Regions from separate parts of the Homo sapiens genome. Here region 1 is linked to region 2. Evidence: promoter capture Hi-C in human tissues and cell types (Jung and others, 2019). All regions are on one chromosome and are shown on one strand. Each heading gives the region's core, a stretch centred on a gene start or on the middle of the fragment in contact. The rest is flanking DNA. Distances are from core to core; before and after follow the strand shown.

Region 1 (5,576 bases), core at 457-2,956, 1.2 Mb before region 2:
CACTTTTAAAAATGTTTATAAAACATTTACAAAAATCATCAGAATTTCTACAAATTTTTAAATGGGAAACACTTGTCATACTCCCATAAAGCTACAGTAAAACAAGAAATGAATATGAAAAATTCTGCAAAAATTAACCAGATATCTAAAAATACTTGTATAAAATTATTGGATCAAAGGAGAAATGAAATTTCAATTTTAAGTTATTAGAATACTATATATCTTAAAATTGAATTAAACATGCAAAAAGTACAAATTTACAGACAAAATAAATAATGAACAAGTTATATAACAAAATAAGTTTAAAATAAAAAAGTAATTCTTGGGAAGCAAAAAAAGAAAATAATAATGAATAATAAATTAATTCATTAGATTTTCATAATCTAGTTCTGTGGTGAAGCTGTTGGCAAATCTCAAGGAAAGATAAAAATAACAACCAAAAAATAACCCAATGTGAGAAATGATGATATTAACAGAGAATAAATTCCATAATCTGTATCCTAGTAAATGATGAAAACTTCTGGAAAGACTGATTTGAAGCTGATTCTTGACTTCCATGTCCTATGGGATTTCTTGGAGAGAGAGAGTAAGTGTGAGGCTTTGTCCTTGACAGACAGGAGAGCCTGTGGGGCTGCGGGAGAACTTAAGGCTTATATATTGCTGTGTAGCAAAGCACACCCACTTAGTGACTTCAAGCAATGGCCATTTGATTTGCTTATGATTCTGCAGTCTGGGCTGGGTCAGCTGGGCAGTTCTCCTGATCTCACACTGGTCAAGCTGACAGGTCATCTGGGCTGGGCTCAGCTGGGATGCTGCAACAGCCTCTGTCTTTCTCTCCACTAGTTGCACAGTCTTGCTCTCTCCAAGGGGTCTGTCCATCATGGTACCTGAGCCTTGGGGTTTCCCAAAGCAGAAAAGCGGAAGCTGCTGGCTCTTTTTTAAGCTTAAGCCTAGAACGGGTACAGCATCACTTCCTCCGTATTTAATTGGGTAAAGCTTTTACAAGATCATCCCAGACTTGAGCAGGGCGAACCACCTGAGGGTATGAACACCTGAGGGCATGGTTCTTGGGGAGTCATGCATGTAATTGAAAGACACAGCTATTCTGGGGGCTGTGAAGGTTATTTATACCCCAGTGTGGCTTGACCAGCCGAAGTCTATGAGTCTCTCCAGGAAAGAGCTGCAGTGTGCAGGTGCAGTTCGAGCTTTCTGGTCTTGATGACCCTGGAGAAAGAGAAAATTGATGTTGGGTTGGATTGTGTGCAGCTTCTCTGGTTGGGTGAAGACTGTGTTTGGCATTTTGAAGCAGAAAAACGTCCTTTCCATGTTCCAAAATGAAGGTGATGATTTGCCAGCCCACTCCCTGCACATCCTCAGGGAGCAGGAGTCATACATCTTCCCTTGCTGTTGAAGTCATCCTGCCCCAGACGCCCTAAAAGCCTGATGGGTCTGGATGAGGAGAGGACACACCAGGAGGAGCAGGCAAAGAAAAGTTTCAGCTCCTCCGGAGCCCTTGAGTACGTGCAGAGCAAGGAAGTCCAAAGCAAGTAATGTAACACTCAGCTCCCCCTGAACTGGTGAGAGAGCTACATGAGAACTTAACAAAAACCACAAATGACAAGCCCTAGGAGACGTAGCTAGAACACAAAATACTCTCAGGATCTATAGACAGAAGAATGGATTTTTCAATTAAATGAAAATGTTTAACAGATGAAGTGAGAGATGGTCACAGCGGATAACTGATATACAGATGTGGGGGACCAGGTAGACATTCTGCAATCCTGTGAACACACGCACACACATGCACACTCACACACATGCACACACGCACACTCACACACACATGCACACACACATGCACACTGACACACATCCACGCACACACACATTCACACACATGCACACACGCACACACACATGTACACACATGCACACACACATGCATACACATGCACACAAGCACACTCACACATACATACACATGCACACGTACACACACCCACACACGCATGTGCAAACACATATGCACACACGCACACACACATACACGCACACGTATGCACACAGACGCACACCCACGCACACTCACACGTGCACACACACGCACACACATGCACACACACAGAGACACAAAAGCCACAAGGCAATATAAAGAGACCTGAAGAACAAATCCAGGATACCCAATATGTGAATAACAGACCTTCAAAATGGTAAACAAAAAAGAACCAGTAGAAGAAAAGTCACACTCGAAAATTAAGTGTATGTGATGAGAGGCCAGAATGATTATCCCGGTGGGTCTCACAGTGGAAGCAAGTGTGAGAAAAACAGTCTGTAACTTCGCTTTGGACATACTCATATTACAAAAGTGTGGCCCCTAAGAGGATATGCTACTGTCCCGTGGGATGCCAAGCCTTTTGCTCTGTCAGGGTGCAGATTTCAGGTGACATATATTAGCTTAATGCACTGAAAGAAACCAAAATATTCTCCCCTACCTACTGAGGATTATGGAGCTTAAGAAGATTCAGATGCAGGGAGACTCCGCCCTGCCTCTGCTTGCCAGGTAGCAGGACAGCAATTTACAAAACCAAGGTATTCTTCCTTCCTCTCTGTCATTCCCACCTAAAGACAGGCCCCTTTCCAACACTTGCTTATAAGCTCAGAGACAGCCACGCCAGAGAATCTAGGAGCTGGCTTTACTCTTCCCACAATTACTTTCCCATGTATCTCACTTTTTTTAAGCCTGAAGATGCTCTTTTCTTTGTCTTGTCACTAAATAGGATTTATGGCTCTTTGTTAAAATAATTTTTTTTTAAGTGGAGTCTCTGTTGCCAAGGCTGGAGTGTAGTGGCACAATCCCGGCTCACTGCAACCTCTGCCTCCCAGGTTCAAGCGGTTCTCCTGCCTCAGCCTCCTGAGTAGCTGGGATTACAGATGCCTGCCACCACGCCTGGCTAATTTTTCTGTTTTTAGTAGAGACAGGGTTTCACTATGTTGGCTAGGCTGGTCTTGAACTCCTGACCTCAAGTGATCTGTCCGCCTCGGCCTCCCAAAATGCTGGGATTACAGGCGTGAGCCACTGCACCCGGCCAATACTTTTTAAGTATTGGCCCCTAAGCCACTGCCTTGAGAGAGAAATAATTTTGAACTGAAGCCTTTCCCAGGTGATGGGTACAGCAAGTGTTAATAAACTCCTGCTGGGTTTTCTCTTGTTAATCTGACTTTTGTTTTCAAGCAAGTCTAAACTAAGAATCTATAAGGGAAAGAAAAGAAATTACATTTCCTCACCTATAGCACTGAAGGAACCCAGGGAACTTCACCCAAAAATATGGCTCCCTAGTATAGTGAGTATTTTGAATTGAAAATCCTTAGAGATCAACAGAGGCCAAGAGAGTTTTCCCTTATCTGCATAAAGACCGACCCCCAAGGAGAACAGTTGCTTTCCTTCTCCTCCCTGTTATCTCCTTATCCACTGCAGAAAAGAATCCCGAGGAATACCGCCTCGCCTGAGCAGGCCCTTTGGCCCTCTAAGTATGCCATCCGTCCCCTTGACAACCAGGCCCCCTCCTGAGGCGGTCCGGGGTCAATCACCACATTCGCATAGAAACAGACACTTGTCACTTTGGAGACTCCAAGCTTTTTAGGAGCTGTGTGCCAGGGAGCAGGACAAAAACCAAATATATATTTCTTATCATAAATCACAATGTCATACTACCGTCTATTCATCCCTCCCCTCGGGACAGATAAGCTTGTCAGTTATCCTTTGGGTGGCTTACAGAAACATCTAACCCCACAGGGATGTTCTAAGAGGCTGACACATAAGAAAGGTAGAGGACATCCATCAGCTGTGCCTACTTAGGGCTCAAGCAGACCTGGTTATATTGCAGTCATTTCTGTCAACAAGAGCCTCCTGTGGCCCTGATGCTACGTAGCCTTAAAAATACTCTCCCCTGGAAGTAGACCCCTTTACCAGCCCCAGCAGACCAAAGCAAAATGAAGTCACTCATGCTAAAGTTCCATGTCACCAAACCAAAACTAAGCTACTTGACCTTCTGAGAAATCAGGAGAGAGAAATATAACCAAAGAGGCCAGCTTTAGCTGGCACAATAAGGAAGTCTGTCCTGCGTTAACTCTCACAAAGAAGTAACCTAATGCTATTAATTGATCAGTTATTTTTCTATGGTTTTGTTTCCTTGTTTTCCCCTTAGAAAACTCACTGTTCTGCTACTGGTTGGTGGAAGCTTTCAAGCTTTCATTTTATTTTGTAGGATGGAGGCTGCCCTGATTCACGAATCACACATAAAAGCCAATTAAGATCTTTAAATTTGTTGTGATTTTGTCTTTTGACACAACTGTGGTTATTTATTCTGCTCATGAATTTGAAGATTGCAGGGCTTGGTGGAGAGAGCTTGCCTTGCTCTCTGGGGCACCCTCTGGGGCAGACCCCTGGAGGGTAGAGGACCTGCTTCGGAGATGTCTTACTCTGGGGCTGAAGTGTGGTTCCAGTCGTTGTCGGGGAGGGCAGCAAGGGCGGTGGGCCCCAGGTTTTGGTTTCTCTCCACACGGGGCCTTCTCCAAGGTCTGCCTGGGCTTTCTTACAGCACGGTGTCTGGTTCTAGGAGTAACGTCCCAGGAGAACAAAGAGGAAGAACCTAGAATTTCCATGATCTGGTCTCAGGAGTCACAGGGCTTCACTTTGCTCTACTCTGTGTTGAGGCAGTCAAAGAGGTCTACTCTGATTCAGAGGGGGGGACACAGCCCTGATATCTTGGTGTCACAGATGACCTGTCACTGTGTAAGGAGATTGTGGGGGATGAGAGATATTGATGGCGCCATCTTTGGAAAATCCAATCTGCCAAAACTCTCCTGGGAAGTGATGACTTCCAAAACTCTCCTGGGAAGTGATGACTTCCTTCCCAGCCTGGGGGCTGGAGGTCGGGCAGCCTAGAAGGATCTGGGCTGTTCACCTTGAAGAGCGCAATCACTGAGGAGGTGGGTGAATTCCTTCCTGATCCTGGTCGGAAGTCAGGACTGCACTGAATGCACCTCGTGAGGGGGGCCAGCAAGCATGGCAATTGGGGCACTGGAAGGGTTGGGTTTTCCTCAGCGAGAGGGACCAGCAAGAGCAGAGATGTGATCTGCGTCTCTGCCACTTCTTCAAGCCTTAAACTACAGCCCTCAGGTTCCTTCCACCCTCAGCAGGAAGAATGTATATCTTGCTCTGTTGTGATTAAACATTTCTCCTTGATGAAGGCAGGGAGGTACCAGGGAGCTGCTGATCCCTCAGGCTCAGCTGTGTCTGTACCAGTGCCTCCAGCATCTGCTTATAGATCCACACACAGCCCAGCATTTTGTTACCTATATTGATCACTGATGAGGAATTGAATGGAGTCTGGAATTTGGTTTCTGGTGAAGAAACTAGGGCACAGGAGCCGAAAGCCACATTTTCAGGTGTTTTCCTGGCTTTTTCCCCTCAGCGGAGACAGATTCTTTGATTAACGCAGAGCTAGTGTCTTTGCAGCTCCTAAGTGATCGATATGCTACTGGTCTCATCCGGACCTCTCAGCTACTCCAGTGAG
Region 2 (5,141 bases), core at 2,641-5,140:
TGCCCCACTTGCACCACAGACGAGGAATGCCAGAGAGCAGCCTGCCCTGGGTTTAACATCCCAGGGTAATGTGATTTGCTGGGCAGTGTTGAAGGACATCCTATTTTCAGCAGGAGACTGGAACTGACCTTGGGCTGTTCAGCCAGTTCTCCCTTATCTCAAGATGCTGCAATCCTAGCACATTCTGCAGTTATTCCTGAGAACTACATGGTAAAAAGGGGACTGGGTCTGTCCAAGGCCACCCAAACTGCCCTGCAGTTGCCCCGGGGATGTTAAATTTCCCTGAATTCCAGGCTGCGCCTGCTCCCAAGGCTTCCGGAGAAAGTCGTAAGATAAGCCCTAAAGAGGACAGCAACGAGATGCTTGAGGTGGCAGCATTCAGGGGAACTCTCCACAACAATCAGAGAGCTGACGGCAGAGGCAGGCAAGGGACATTAGCACCAATAATGTATGCTACAGGCACCTACCATGTTCTAGACAGAGTGCCAGACATGCAGCAGTGAGCAGGACAGACCAACTTATTTGTTCTCATGGAGCTTCATTTCAGTAGTGGAACAAAGAATTTACCAATAAACAAGTCAGCAAACAAGTAATGACGGGTGTTGTGTCTTTGCAAAAATTATGACAATAAGAAAAATATGACATAGGAAAATTACAACAGTGAAAGAAAGCTGGCCTAACCGACTCCATCTTCTAACCTCCAATCTGCCTTTGCACATTCCTGGGCATAGGCCAAACAAATCTGTGGAGAAACTTAGTTTATAATTTCACTTTAAACCAAATATAACAGCCCCCCCCTGAAACAAACCTCCTTCTTGCTTGGGGACCAGACCACCTTTGTGAAACTAACAAATTAGCCACAAGATTAAAATTTATGGGCCGGGCGCGATGGCTCACACCTGTAATCCCAGCACTTTGGGAGGCCAGGGTGGGCAGATCACCTGAGGTCAGTAGTTCAAGACCAGCCTGGCCAACATGGTGAAACCCTGTCTCTACTAAAAATATAAAAATTAGCCGGGCGTGGTGGCAGGTGCCTGTAATCCCAGCTACTCAGGAGGCTGAGGCAGGATAATTGCTTGAACCCGGGAGGCAGAGGTTGCAGCGAGCCGAGATCACACCATTGCACTCCAGCCTGGGGGACAAGAGCAAGACTTCATCTCAAAAAAAAAAAAAAAAAAAAATTATGGCTTAGGAGTCATGCAGCCCGAAGCCACAAGATTCCTAACCTCCATAATTGCTCCAATAGATAATATTACTATTATATAACATAAGATTGGTGTTCAAGGTATTTTTCAGACCCCACATTGTGATGGACTAGCCACCCAGACTGGTAAACTGGCTATCTCGTCTTGTGACCCCAACCCAGGAACTAACCCAGAGCAAGACGAAAGCTTCATCTCTTCAGGATTTCATCCCTAACCCAACCAATCAGCACTCACCATTCCCTAGCCCCCTGACTGCTAAACTATCTTTTAAAAACCCTAGCCTCCAGACTGGCACAATCCCAGCACTTTGGGAGGCCAAGGAGGGCAAATCACTTGAGAGCAGGAGTTCGAGACCAGCCTGGCCAACACGGTGAAACCCCGTCTCTACTAAAAATACAAATAATTAGCTGGGCATGGTGGTGTGCGCTTGTAATCCCAGCTACTTGTAAGGCTGAGGCATGAGAATCGCTTGAACAGGAGGTGGAGGTTGCAGTAAGCCTAGACTGCACCACTGCACTCCAGCCTGGACAACAAAGCAAGACACTGTCTCAAAAACAAACCCCCCCCAAAAAATTCCTTAGACTCCGAATTTGAGGAGAGGCTGATTTGAGGAGTAATAAGCCTCTGCTCTCCTGGTTAGCCAGCTCTATGTGTATCGAACTCTTTATTGCAATTCCCATCTTGAAAAATTGGCTCTATCTGGGCGACAGGCAAGAAGAAGCTGTTGGGTGGTTACAGTGTGATGAGTGCTATGAAGGAAATAACATAAAAGGTGACAGAGAATAACTAGAGGAGGCCATTCTAGATAAAATGGTCTGAGGAGGTGACATTTGAGCTGAGTATTAAACATTGAGAAACAATCTACGAAGGGAAGATGTGGTGCAAGACCTTTCCAAGCAGTGTATAATACACACAAAAGCCCATGCCAGCAAAAAGATTTTACTTTCACAAATTCTAGAAACTCTAAGAGTAAAAAGTGGTGAAAAGAAAGGAAGTGATAACACATGTTGCCAAGTGCAGCAGGCAGAAACAGGGCCATCACCACTTCACGACAGGATCTCAAAATACTAGGAAGTGTAAATTAAAACCATGAGATATAGTTTTGTCATTATTGGATTGGGAAAGATCCAAAAGTTTGGAAAGACCCCACTGGTGAAGATGTGTGGAAACCCACAGTCTTACACATTATTTGCCAGAGTGTAAATTAGTACAGTGTCTAAGGGGGGCAATTTAGCCACGTTTGGCTAATATATTATTTTAAAGGACATATCCCACCATAGCCAATTCCACCTCTAAGAATATTTCTGACAGATATACCCACATGCATGCACAAAGACAATCCACGGGATCCAGTCACATTATTCCTAACCCAAAGCAACTGGGAAACACTTCAAGGTCCATCAGTGAAGGCCCGCATAGGCTAACCTCTGTAATAACCAAATCTCAGTGGCAGTGTCCAACCAGGTGCTTGTGGGCGACCTTCCAACAGGCACCGCATTGCCCGGCTGCCAGGCCGGGCCTGTGTACTGTCCCCGCATCCCATACAGCTAGCACTTATTCACCCTCAAAAGCGTCCCATCCTGAAAATAAACTCTTGCCCACTTGGTGCTTCAGGAACCTGGGCTTCTTCCACTAATAGCTCTCCCAGATGCCCCAGTGCGCAGGTGGGGCCGTCCTCTAGGACCAGGCCTGGCTGGGGCGCACCCACACCTCCTTGGCCAGACGCCATGGGCCGGGAAGGGGCTCTGGCCCTTGCGGGAATGAGGGCGCCTAGCATAGGTGTGCAAGTGGGCAGCCCCCACCGTGGGGTCCTTAAGTAAGCTGGAGCCTGTGAGCCAGGACAGTCAGGAGTTGCAACCTTGGTGATTTCTAGGAAGACAGAAAATGGGGTCAAGGGCCGGGTGTGGTGGCTTATGCCTATAGACCCAGCACTTTGGGAGGCCGAGGCAGGCGGATCACCTTAGGTCAGGAGTTCGAGACCAGCCTGACCAACAGGGCGAAACCTCGTCACTACTAAAGGTACAAAAATTAGCCAGGCGTGGTGGCGCACACCTGTAATCCCAGCTACTCAGGAAGCTGAGGCAACAGAATCGCTTGAACCCGGGAGGCAGAGGTTGCAGTGAGCTGAGACCACATCACTGCACTCCAGCCTGGGTGAGAACCTGTTAAAAAAAAAAATAAGAAAATGGGGTCAAGAAACGGTGGGAGGAGGGCAGATTTCATGAACCTGCCTGCTATGATGTGGCTGCATTTCCATCATGCATTGTCCTAAAAAAAGAAAAAGAAAAAAATAAAATGTAGACGTGGAGGGATGGGGGAAATTGCACAGGCCGGTCCAGGCTGTGAGGCTGCCCCCTACCAGGGACGACGAGGGCCAGCTCCGCCGCGCCGTAAGGAAACTGGCCAAGGGAACCCCTTGAATCTGGCGAGGGCCCGCCATGAGACGCTCGGGGAACCAGACTGCCGAGCCCCCCTCTCTGGGCCGACGCCAGCCCGGCTGTGGACTGGAGAAAACCGCAAGGCCACCTGCAGAAAGAAAAGAAGGCCATCGCGCCTACGCAGCTGAGCACCCATACTCCGCCCGCGCCTGCGCAACTGGGTCCCCCGACCCCCACCTCCTCTCCCGCCTGCGCATGCGCGGCTGGGTGCGCCCCCCCGCCCAGCCTGTGACGCCACGTGCATGGGGCGGAGCCCAGGCCCTAGGGAATCGTGGGGTCGTATCCCGCGGGTGGAGGCCGGGGTGGCGCCGGCCGGGGCGGGGGAGCCCAAAAGACCGGCTGCCGCCTGCTCCCCGGAAAAGGGCACTCGTCTCCGTGGGTGTGGCGGAGCGCGCGGTGCATGGTAAGCGGCGGGCCGGGGCGCTGGCGGGGGCGGCCGGGGATCACCGACTGTAGGCGGGCCTCCCCCACGCGGGCGCGCTGCGCTCCGGAGGACGGCCTCGGGGTCACTCGCACCCCGGGTCCCACCTCCTGCTGCCTTCCTGTCCAGGCTCCATTAGGGCTCCCTGGATGTCTGGGCTCCGCTGACCGGTGGGGGGCAAGTCCAGTGTTTTGGGCCACAGGGCGGGCCAAATAGCAGGGGCCTGTAGCCCCAGGGGGCCCCAGCCCTGCTGCGTTCATTCATTCAGCCCGCTTTTGCGGACCCGCCCCCAGTCTGCGTCAGGGACAGACCCCTCCGCCCTGGATGAGCCCGGCGGGGAAGCTTCGCGTAGCAGTTTCTGGGAAACAGGTAGGATCAGGCCGCTCGGACAGGACTGAGGGTGTAAGGACGATTCACCCTGGCATTGGGGTGGTGTCCCGAGGAGCTCATAGGTGGTCAGGGCGGTTCTGCCCGAGCTGACCTGTGAGCCGCGAATGCCCTGGACCGAGGGAGGGAGAGCCCCCTAGGTGGACAGACTAGACTCCTTCAGTGGAAAACATTCAACAGCCAGGAGAGCGTGGAAGAGGAAGGAGAGATGGGAGGGCCCAGGGGAGCGTGGAAGGGAGGGTGTTTTTATTATAAGTGCACCTGTAAGTGCAAAGTGCAAAGGAAGCAGCCGCCGGGAAGTGCCTGGGCAGCTCTGGGTGTCCCTCCAGGCACCTGTATTCCAGCCTTACCTGCGCGAAGCCACACATCCCACGTCACACAGGATACGGGGAAGTCAGCCATAGCCTGCAGGCGGGGAATCTGAAACCTCGCGCAGGAGTTCCTTGGGAGAGGTGGATTACAAGGACTCTTCCTCCCACCCGCTGTGCAAGAGCCATGGGCGGCCGGTAGTCATTTTTGAAGGACCTGGCAAGCACTGTACAAATCTCAAAATTGCTTTTTGTCCCCCTCCCCTTGCCTTGGAGAGAGTGGCTGGCTAGTGTGTGTGTCGTCTGCCTCCTGAAGGTTCGGGTAAAGGACCAGGGAGGTGGGCAGCCCTTTGTGTCAGGAGATCTGGAAGCGCCTCCCCTC

The links. Contacts are between HindIII fragments. The study calls those that stand out against the background at their distance.
Region 1: a contact is called between a fragment that was not itself captured here and the fragment with the promoter of ENTPD6 in region 2, in 1 of the 25 tissues and cell types used here (spleen).

What each region holds. Positions count from the first base shown.
Region 1 is chr20:24,001,152-24,006,727 of GRCh38, forward strand. No RefSeq gene overlaps it. Among named protein-coding and RNA genes, the nearest start is that of GGTLC1, 15 kb to the left of the region's middle. The HindIII fragment of the contact is 3,965 bases long and covers 1-3,689 here.
Region 2 is chr20:25,191,822-25,196,962 of GRCh38, forward strand. It overlaps ENTPD6 (ectonucleoside triphosphate diphosphohydrolase 6), which reads left to right and starts at 3,891. Exons shown (of 15, transcript NM_001247.5): 1 at 3,891-4,046. LOC101926889 (a long non-coding RNA gene) reads right to left here and starts at 5,071. Exons shown (of 6, transcript NR_109994.1): 1 at 4,802-5,071. RefSeq lists enhancers at 3,347-3,586, 4,437-4,506, 4,887-5,036 and a silencer at 3,727-4,146. The HindIII fragment of the contact is 8,888 bases long and covers 1-5,141 here.